Linked DNA regions of Homo sapiens: region 1 is linked to region 2. Evidence: promoter capture Hi-C in human tissues and cell types (Jung and others, 2019). All regions are on one chromosome and are shown on one strand. Each heading gives the region's core, a stretch centred on a gene start or on the middle of the fragment in contact. The rest is flanking DNA. Distances are from core to core; before and after follow the strand shown. Region 1 overlaps C2CD3 (C2 domain containing 3 centriole elongation regulator). Region 2 holds the start of UCP2 (uncoupling protein 2).

Region 1 (5,175 bases), core at 1,948-4,447, 130 kb after region 2:
AAAGGAAAAGTTATTTGACTATGTAGTAGGAGTGTTAGGACCACATCTTTTATTTCTCAAACTACTTCCCAGAGAATAAACTTAACACTGATGAACTAACTATTCATAGATCAAACTGGAGAACCAAGGCAAAGCTATCCTCAGAATATATTAGAAAAGTGGCTGTAATTTTGGGTGGCAGGAACATAAATGTCTATTATATTATCCTTTTTCTGTATCTGAAATATTTAAAACAAATTAGAAAAAAAAGACAACACCAAAAGCCTAAGCAACAAAAGAAAAAAAAACAGATAAACTAGAGTACATAAAAATTAAAAACTTTTGTGCTGTAAACAATACCATCTAGAGAGTGAAAGGACAACCCACAGAATGGGAGAAAATATTTGCAAATCATAGATCTGATAAGGGGCTTGTATCTAGGATATACAAAGAACTCTTATAACTCAATAACAAAAAGCCTGATTTGAAAGTGAACAAAGGATCTGAATAGACATTTCTCCAAAGAAGATCTATAAATGGCCAATAAGCACATGAAAAGATGCTTGACATGATTGGCCATCAGGAAAATGCAAATCAAAATCAATGTGATGTCACTTCACATCCACCAGGATGACCAGAATAAAAAAGAATGGAAAGTAACAAGTGTTGACGAGGATGTAGACAAATTAGAACCTTCATATACTGCTAGTGGGAAAATGGTGCAGCCACTGTTGAAAACAGTCTGGCAGTTCTTGAAAAAGTTAAAACATAAAGTTACCATATGACCCAGCAATTCTACCATTAGATATATACCCAAGGGAAATGAAAGCACACAGTCCATACAAAACCACGTACACAAATGTTCACATAGCAGCATTATGCAAAATTGCCAGGAAGTGGAAATAACACGAATGTCCAGCAACTGAGAAAAGGATAAATGAAATGTGGTATATCTATGCAATGGAGTATTACTCAGCCATAGAAAGGAATGAAGTACTGATATATACTATAACATGAAACTTAAAAATATTATGGTAAGTCAAAGACAGTAGTCACAAAAATCACAAGTTGCATGATTCCATTTATATGAGACATCCAGAATGGACAAATTGATAGGGAAAGAAAGATTAGCAGTTGCTTAGGGCTGGGGGAAGAGGGAAATGCGAAGCGAATGCTAGTAAGTATGGGGTTTCTTTTAGGGGGGATGAAAATGTTCTAAAATTAGATTGTGGTGATGGTTGCACAGCCTTGAAAATATTGGCTGGGCGTGATGGCTTATGCCTGTAATCCCAGCACTTTGGGAGGCCGAGGCAGGCGGATCACTTAAGGTCAGGGGTTTGAGACCACCCTGGCCAACATGGTGAAACCCTGTCTCTACTAAAAAATACAAAAATTAGCTGGGTGTGGTGGCATACGCCTGTAATCCCAGCTACTCAGGAGGCTGAGATGGGAGAATCACTTGAACCCGGGAGGTGGAGGCTGCAGTGAGCAGAGATTGCGCCACCACACTCCAGCCTGGGCGAAAGAGTGAGACTCCATGTCAAAAAAAAAAAAAAAAAAAAAGTCAAATGAGTAATTAGGAATTCAAAAATTCTTCCAAAGTCAGAATGTCTAAGGTGCAGAAAACCAGTGTGTCTCTTACTTCCATCTGTAATTTTACTGGAGGCGAGTCGAACAACCTCAGTGATCAAAGCTGTCTTTCCCAATCCGCTTTCCGAAAAGCCCACAGGAAAGTGATATTCTACAAAGAAAGTGCTAAAAAGAAAAAAAAAGTGATTAAAAACTAACCAAACAATAAACCTAATTTCCGTCTGATAAATCCAACATATATTTGAAATCTTACTTTCAGGACCTCTAGTACTCAGAGGCCCTACCTCTTCTTCAAAGCCTTCCACCAACCCTGTCTGAGAGAATCAAAGGCTCCCTTTCTTGTGTTCCCACAGCAATTTTAATACAAAACATCTATTTTGGGCCCTAAAGCTTTATGTTATAGATAGCCATTTAAATGTTTCTCTCTCCTGCTAACTGTAAGATATGTAAGAACAGAGTCTGTATCTTAATTTTCTTTAGTCCCATACTTACTTACACAGTTCTTGGGATATAGCAGGGATTCAATATATTTCTGTAGATTAAATGATGCATATGAAAACACATCCCAAATCACAGTATTATGCAATTGTTGATTATTACCATCAGACACACTTTCCAAAAATGTCAAATTTAGCTTTCTCATGTTAGAGACATACCGCTTTTTTGCTGTAGTCACCTTAGGTGGTGGACCAGCATAGCTTTTTTTGCCAGGGGTCATCTGAGGACTATCTGGAGGAACTCCCATGGTTTCGATGATGATTCTGACTGAATGTGTTCTACCCAAAAGGGCCAGTCTATCCACACTTAGTGTCATCGTTTGGGCATCTTCTGGAGTTTCTGAGAGCATCTGTTGTTCAACCAAATTTCTGAAAGGAGTTCACACAAGCAGTGAGGCATACTGCTACAGGCTTCACATGAAACAATCTAGTTTGCACAGGCAAGATGAGGAAAAAGGGAGGGCAGCAAGTTTTTATTTTTTTATTTTTATTTTTGACACAGGGTGTTGCTCTGTCACCCAGGCTGGAGTGCAGTGGCACGATCATGGCTTACTGCAGCCTTGACCTCCTGGGCTCAAATGATCCTCCCACCTCAACTTCCCAAGTAGCTGGGACCACAAGCATGGGTCATCACACTTGGCTAATTTTTGTATTTTTTGTAGAGATGAGATATTACTATGTTGCCCAGGCTGGTCTTGAACTCCCGGACTCAAGCAATCCTCCTGCCTCAGCCTCCCAAAGTGCTGGGATTACAGGTGTGAACAACCACACCCAGCCAAGTATCTTGACTCACAAGTTATCAAGGATTGGAAACAGCTTTTATTATCAGAATTCTGGTCCTATAGTACAAGAAATCTCAAAAAATGTAAAAAAAAAATATAATCTAAAGGTTTGAGAGTGTATATTCAGGGTAATTTGAATCTATGCTCCCAGGTAAAAAAAAAATTTAAAAATACTATATAGATATATACACACACACACACACATACATACATATATATATACATACATATATATACACACACTTATACACACACAACATATATACACACACATACATTATACAATACATATGAGTACAGAAACTGAAACTCCAAATTTAGGTTTTTCTAGAAGGGACACAGACCTTATTTCAGTTACCCACTATTCTAATGTAACTACTATTGTCACTTTTGTGTATTCCTTCTCATTTGCTTTCCTTATGCATATTTTCTACACAGTTGTGATCACAGTACACATACAACCTAGAATTCTGCTTTCTTCCTTAACCATTTAAATTATACCTATCTTGGTAGAATCAAAAATATGAAAACGACCATACTGCCAAAAGCAATCTACAAATTCAGTGCAATTCCCATCAAAATACCCTCATCATTCTTCACAGAACTAGGAAAAAAAATGTTAAAATTCATATGGAACCAAAAAAGAGCCCACATAGCCAAAGCAAGATTAAGCAAAAAGAACAAATCTGGAGGCATCACATTACCTGACTTCAAACTATACTATAAGGCCACAGTCACCAAAACAGCATGGTATTGGTATAAAAATAGACACATAGACCAATGGAACAGAATAGAGAATCCAGAAATAAAGCCAAATACTTATAGCCAACTGATCTTCAACAAAGCAAACAAAAACATAAAGTGGTGAAAGGACACCCTATTCAACAAATGGTGCTGGGACAATTGGCAAGCCACATGTAGAAGAATGAAACTGGATGTTCATCTCTCACCTTATAAAACTATCGACTCAAGATGGATCAAGGACTTAAATCTAAGACCTCAAATCATAAAAATTCTAGAAGATAACAATGGAACAACCCTTCTAGACATGGTTTAGACAAAGACTTCATATCCAAGAACCCAAAAGCAAATGCAACAAAAACAAAGATAAATAGATGGGACTTAATTAAACTAAAAAGCTTCTGCACAGCAAAAGAAACAGTCGGCAGAGTAAACAGACAACCCACAGAATGGGAGAAAATCTTCACAATCTATACATCTGACAAAGGACTAATATCCAGAATCTATAAGGAATGCAAACAAATTAGCAAGAAAAAATCAAACAATCCCATCAAAAAGTGGTCTAAGGACATGAATAAACAATTCTCAAAAGAAGATATACAAATGGCCAACAAACGTATGAAAATATGCTCAACATCACTAATGATCAGGGAAATGCAAATCAAAACCACAATGCGATACCACTTTACTCCTGCAAGAATGGCCATAATAAAAAATTAAAAAAAAAAAGAATGTTGGTGAGGATGTGGTGAAAAGGGAACACTATTACACTGCTGGTGGGAATGTAAACTAGTACAACTACCATGGAAAACAGTGTGGACATTCCTTAAAGAACTAAAAGTAGAACTACCATTTGACCCAGCAATCCTACTTCTAGGTATCTACCCAGAGGAAAAGAAGTCACTATATGAAAAAGATACTTGTACTTGCATGCTTATAGCAGCACAATTTGCAATTGCAAAAATATGGAACCAGCCTAAATGCCCATCAATCAATGAATGGATAAAGAAATTGTGGTATACATATATGTGTGTATATATATACACACACACACGTATATATATACACACACATATATACGTGTGTGTATATATACACGTGTATATGTGTATATACACGTGTATATGTATATATACACACGTGTATATATACACACGTGTATGTATATATACATATACACGTGTATATACACATATACACGTATATATGTGTATATACACATATACACGTATATATACACATATACGTGTATATGTATATATACACATATATACGTGTATATGTATATATACGTGTGTGTGTATATATATATGAATATATATATATGAATATATATATGAATATATATATATGAATATATATATATGAATATATATATATGAATATATATATATGAATATATATATATGAATATATATATATGAATATATATATATGAATATATATATATGAATATATATATATGAATATATATATATGAATATATATATATGAGTGAGCTGTGATTGTGCCACTGCACTCCAGCCTGGGCAACATAGTGAGACCCCGTCTCAAAAAAAAAAAAGTAGTCTACCCAAATAATTAGG
Region 2 (5,545 bases), core at 2,928-5,427:
CAGTCAATACTTCATGAAGGGCTCCCTCCCTTTCACTGCAGGGAGAGTCTGGATCAGAGCTCTCCTAGCGCTGCCTCATAAACAGCCACTGGACCAGCCCTTTGTCTGCTGTATGCAGAGATTTCACTGATGATGCCCACATTCCTGCTTCTGTGGTTCATCTGGAGAGCTGACAGAAGTAGAGAAAAGTTTCACCCAGACTAAGACCCAACAGGCACAGACCCATAGGCTTATGTTCTGGATGTCTAAGCAGGAATGGTTGCTACAGGTCTGGAACTTAAGTCAAGAAGAAAAGGTACAAGATGACTAATTCAATCCCTTCCCAGACCATCAGTCTAATTCTCTCCTCCAGCTCTCACACAGCTTAGGATCTCTAGAGTCATTGTTTTAGCAAGACTGCTTTGCTGGGCAGTGGTTCACTGAGATGCAGGAGATAGTATCTACTCTAGAGGAGGCTTACTGTTGGGCACAGGGGGTGGATGGGCAGATGATTCAAGCTGCATTTGGGGCTTACAGGACATACTCTCAAAATGCAAAGGAGGGAACAACTAATGCCATTGGGAGAGAAGGAAGAGTGGGTGATCAGAAAAGACTTCTTGGGCTGGGTGTGGTGGCTCACGCCTGTAAACCCAGCACTTTGGGAGGCTGAGGCGGGCGAATCACCTGAGGTCAGGAGTTTGAGACCAGCTTGGCCAACATGGCAAAACCCCATCTCCGCTAAAAATACAAAAATGAGCTGGGTGTGTTGGCACACGCCTGTATTCCCAACTACTTAGGAGGCTGAGGCAGGAGAATCACTTGAACCCAGGAGGTGGAGGTTGCAGTAGCTGAGATCGTGCCACTGCACTCCAGCCTAGGCGACAGAGCAAGACTCTGTTTCAAAAAACAGACAAACAAACAAAAAAAAACCTAGCACTTTGGGAGGCAGAGGTGGGAGGACTGCTTGAACCCAGGAGTTCAAGACCAGCCAGGGCAACATAATGAGACCCTGTCTAAAAAATATAAATAAAAATAAATTAGCTGGACATGGTGGTGCAGGCCTATAGTCCCAGCTACTTGGGACGATTGCTTGAGCCCAGGAGGTTGAGGCTGCAGTGAGCTGTGATTGTGCCACTGTGCTCCAGTCTGGGTGAGAGAGTGAGACCTTGTCTCAAAAAAAAAAAAAACAAACCCCAAAAAACCTAAGGACTTCTTAGATAAGGTAACATTTAGCTAGGTGATTTTGGGGGCTGAGAGTAAACTCTGGGGCATTAGACTCCTCCTGGCCTACCATGTGATGCAGAGAAAACTGCTCTCCTTTTTGTTTGGGCCAGTTTCCTTTCCTCCAACTTAGGGGGATCCGCACTTACACCACAAGACAGGCAGGGATGAGGGGTCCAGGTCAGAGCTGTGAAGAGTGATAAAGTAAACCAAAAGCCCCATTTTGTTCTGAGTTGGAACCACACCCTCCTCCACTGCCCCAGGAGGAAGTGAGCCCAGCACCCTAGTGGGGGAGGGTGACCTGCTTCTTCCCCTGAGCTTATTTCTTTGACTTCATTGGAGCAGCTGCTTTGAGCCCCGCCTGACTGCCTTTGTTGCTGGGGCTCAGGTGAAAGGGCTGGCTGGTGAAGGGAGTCAGCTGTGAACACAGAGACCCATGGAAACAAACAGCTCACCCAGCTTCCTCTTGGGCTTCTCACTCCAGGTGGCTGGGGCAAGCAGGGAAATGAAGATACTCACCATAGCAACTACACTGGGACCTATAGAACAGGGCCTGACCTTATTCCTGTTTCCCTCCAGCTTGCCCACGAGGCTCAGTGAAGACTGGTGCTCAAATGACAGATTGGGTTGATGAAGGTGCCCTCGGACTCCCCAGATTCCCTGCTCTGACACCCCCTTCCCCCAGGAGGTGCTCCACAACTTTCCCCACCCCAACGCCCAGGGCACTGTATTAGCTCAATCCTCAGAGCAGCCCTGCAAGGTGGCTGCCCTTATTTCCATGTGAGATGAGTAAGAGCCACACTTACAGGCACCAAAGCTGGTAGTATTTGCTTTGCACTGCTGCCCAGCTCCTCAGTTCGTTCTTGCTGTTTTATCAGCCCCAGGCACAGACAGGGCCTTTCACAAGGAAAGTTCTCACAGGCTGATTAAACAGTACTGAGAAGGCTCAGGCAAATGGTATCCCTTCTCTGGGCATCAGAGATATGATGACATGAGTCTGTCACATTCCTGACCTTGAGCTGGGTTGCAGGATGTTGTGAAGGCCAGAGAAGAATAAGACCCAGCTGCTGCCCAAAGACAAGTGCACAGAGGTTCAGCTGCCATATTCTGAATGTTGCCTTGGGCTTGCCAAGTCAGGTCCTTCAGAGGGTGGGTAAGATGGCCCTACTAACAGCAATTAAAATGCAGGACTAGAAATAGTTAATCCTATTTTACAGTCCCCAGCAAATAACCAGTTTCAGAGCCGGGCTGATTACCAATCTCGGTTTCAGGGATAGTCAAAAGCTAGCATCAATATGAAGTTAGAACAATAGGTTCCTGTCCTAGCTCTTCTGCTGGCTCCCGGGATGACTTGGGGCCAATCACTGTTACACGTGGGCCTCAGTTTTCTCCTTTATAAAATGGGGACCAAGATCCTTGGCTTGTCCGAGTCAGCTGAAGGGCCAGAATGAGAGCGGGGAGGTGTGAGAGTGCTCTGTGAACTGGAAAGAGCCACTTCACTGTCGGGGGTGGGGATGGTAATTATTTTTGTTAATGCCCTGCTGACTCCTGCCCCTAGACCACAGGGTTAGGAGGCAGCAAGAGACCTCTTCCTTGGACTGGACTCTTACCCGGCTTTGTAAGGTCTCACGGTGAGGCCTCCAAGATCAAGCTTCTCTAAAGGTGTCCCGTTCTTCAAAGCTGCCAGTGGCTATCATGGCCCGATCCCCTTGGTTTTCCATAGAAAATGGGTGGGAGACGAAACACCTAATGGTCATACTATGTGTCCTGTGGGTGAGCAAAGGCAGAGAGTTTAGAAAGGGCCACCTGCCCCAAGACACACAAGCCCACCCAATCCATGCCTTGGAGGGGGATGGGGAACAGGGCCCAGGGACTGGTTAAGTGCACACACTGGAAAGGGGAAAAGCAGGGCGGAAAATGAACCTAGGTACACTCCCCACCCCCACCCCACCTGCTTAATATCACAAATTGGTTCTCATCCAGACTTCTGCTTTTGTAACACTCAGTACTCTATATAAGCACCCCCTAGCACAGTCATCAGACTTTGGTGAGTGGGAGAGTTGTGAGGGGGTCACGATGGGACAGAGACTCTCCGGGAATTGGCTAGGTCCCAGGTCGGGCTGTGAGGAGGTTGGAAGGGCTGGGAGCCGGCCCTGCAGAGGCCAGATTGAGCAGCTCAAAGCCCACTAGAAAAAGCCCCCAAGCCCTGGGAAAGGCGGTGCAGGAACACTGCCTGGAGCTGCCTGGTAAGGGAGAGGTCATTGTGGTCATCGCTGATGGTCCCCATCCAAGGCAGGGCTCGGCATCGTGGTGGAAAGGAGGGAGTGAAAAGGTGGAGGCTCAAACGACAGCCAACTGAACGGGAGAGGGAAAGAACAAAAGGGACTAAGAAAAAGAGAGAAGAGAAATAAAGAACCAAGGACAGAAAGGATTAGCACAGGCCGGACCCGGAGGCTCATGCCTAAAATTCTAGGACTTTGTGAGGCCGAGGCGGGCGGATTGCTTGAGCTCAGCAGTTCGAGGCCAGCCTGGCCAACATGGCGAAACCCCATCTCTACAAAACACAAAAATTAGCCAGGCGTGGTGGCGGGCGCCTGTAATCCCAGCTACTCGGCAGGCGGATCGCTTGAACCTGGGAGGTGGAGGCTGCAGTGAGCCGAGATCGCGCCACTGCACTCCAGCCTGGGAGACAGAGCGAAAGCCTGTCTCAAACAAACAAACAAAAACAAAAAATAAAACCGAGAGAAAGAAAAGAGTACAAACTTGGGTGGGAGAGAAGGTAAATGGAAGAGCGGGCAGCGCACGCAGAACAAGCGTGGGGGGCGCAAAGGGCGCAGGGCTGGGGCCAGGCTCACCGAGCCGCAGGGAGAACACGGCAGTGCGTGCGGCTGTGTCTGTCGGCTGGCGGAGGGCGCGTCGGACGAGCCGGGCGAGCGTGGACAGTCAATCCCAAGGCGCGCGCAGCTGGGCTTCGCAGTGGGGCTCCGCGCAGGCGGCGGCGCGGCTTAAGCCTCGGGGGCGGGGCCCGGGGTGGGGCCTGCGGGGCGGGGCCGGGCCTGCCAGCTCCTACTTGGGTGCGGAGACCCTGGAGCAGCCGCCTTTCCGCGGGGACCGCCCCGCCTAGGGTTCTCTCCATGACTTTCTCCACTCCCGTTTCCGTGCGTCCCATCACCGCGTTTACTCCTTCGTTCCCCGAGATGGTCACTCCCTTGCCACTCCCCGCCTCTGCCTCACACTCTCTCGGGCCGCCAACCTCTGTGAGGATGGCAAGACTGACCGCCAGAAACAAGTCTTGTCCAGTCACACACCTCTTGCCTTCCCAGCCAGGACGGTTTCTAACAGCGTCCAGCGGGGCCGTGTCTTAAGTGCACTTCCTCTTTTATGGGCCCAGCCCCCCTACGCTGGGCAAACTACCCACCCTCCTGCGAGCGAGCGCGCGGCTGGCTCCTGCAGGGCGGGACTGGGGCCTCGCGACCGGCCTCGCTGTCGATTGGTTACAGCCGCCGCGTTGTCGGGGGAAGGAACCAATCAGAACTGCAGCAACAGGTGGCCCGGCAACCGACAACAGCCGTTGGGCTCGGCTGGGGTTCGCGCCTTCTCCCCCGGTGGAGCGGCCTGGCGTTTAGGGACCAGGACACTAAAGGCCCCGGCGGGGCGGGAGCACCCAGCGTGACCTCACGCTCCTACACACAGACAAGCAAACGGGCCGGCCCCCGCACGTGACAAGGCAGAGCCGGGCCCAGGCCAGCTGCCTGTCCAGCCCTGGGATGAGAAAAGGCGTCAGGAGATGGACCGGGCCTGGTTCGCCTTTAATTGGCTGACCCGTCCTGTGGGGGTAACTGACGCGTGAACAGCCAACAATTGGGCCCTCTGGCCGGGACAAACACGTGCGTTTGGGGAGTAGAAGAAGGCTGGTATTAACCTCCATTTTACAATGAGGAAACGGAGTCCCAAAGACGTTCAGTCATCTTCCTGATATTCACACACTTACACCCTGGTCAGGCCGGCGCCATATGTGTTTTCACCAGCAGAAGGGACTGCCAGGGAACAGCTGAGGGGACCAGAGCTGGGATGGGCCTGGATAATTATAGCGGAAAGAAAAACACGCCGAGCGCATGGTCCTGGCAGAAGCAGCGTGGAAACAGAAGTCAAGGCAGATTATTTCTGCCATGAGGAGATCTTGCCATGTAGGAAAAAAGAAAGAAAGAGAGGAAAGAAAGACAGAGAGAGAGAGAGGAAAGACAGAAAGACAAGAAAGAAAGAGAAAGAAAGAAAAGAAAAAAAAAAAGAAAAGATAAAGTTTTTTTGTGGCACTGTGAGTCTCCCTCCGCCAGGTTCTCTAGCT

What was found. The method cuts DNA at HindIII sites, captures the fragments that hold promoters and counts their contacts. A contact is called where the count stands out against the background at its distance.
Region 1: a contact is called between a fragment that was not itself captured here and the fragment with the promoter of UCP2 in region 2, in 5 of the 25 tissues and cell types used here (H1 embryonic stem cells, IMR-90 fibroblasts, dorsolateral prefrontal cortex and 2 more).

Annotation. Positions count from the first base shown.
Region 1 is chr11:74,112,159-74,117,333 of GRCh38, forward strand. C2CD3 (C2 domain containing 3 centriole elongation regulator) reads right to left here. Exons shown (of 33, transcript NM_001286577.2): 10 at 2,226-2,435; 11 at 1,622-1,734. Among named protein-coding and RNA genes, the nearest start is that of C2CD3, 56 kb to the right of the region's middle. The HindIII fragment of the contact is 4,899 bases long and covers 749-5,175 here.
Region 2 is chr11:73,978,666-73,984,210 of GRCh38, forward strand. It overlaps UCP2 (uncoupling protein 2), which reads right to left and starts at 4,178. Exons shown (of 8, transcript NM_003355.3): 1 at 4,056-4,178; 2 at 2,811-2,967. RefSeq lists enhancers at 1,704-1,763, 5,015-5,515 and silencers at 4,089-4,298, 4,599-4,758. The HindIII fragment of the contact is 13,644 bases long and covers 662-5,545 here.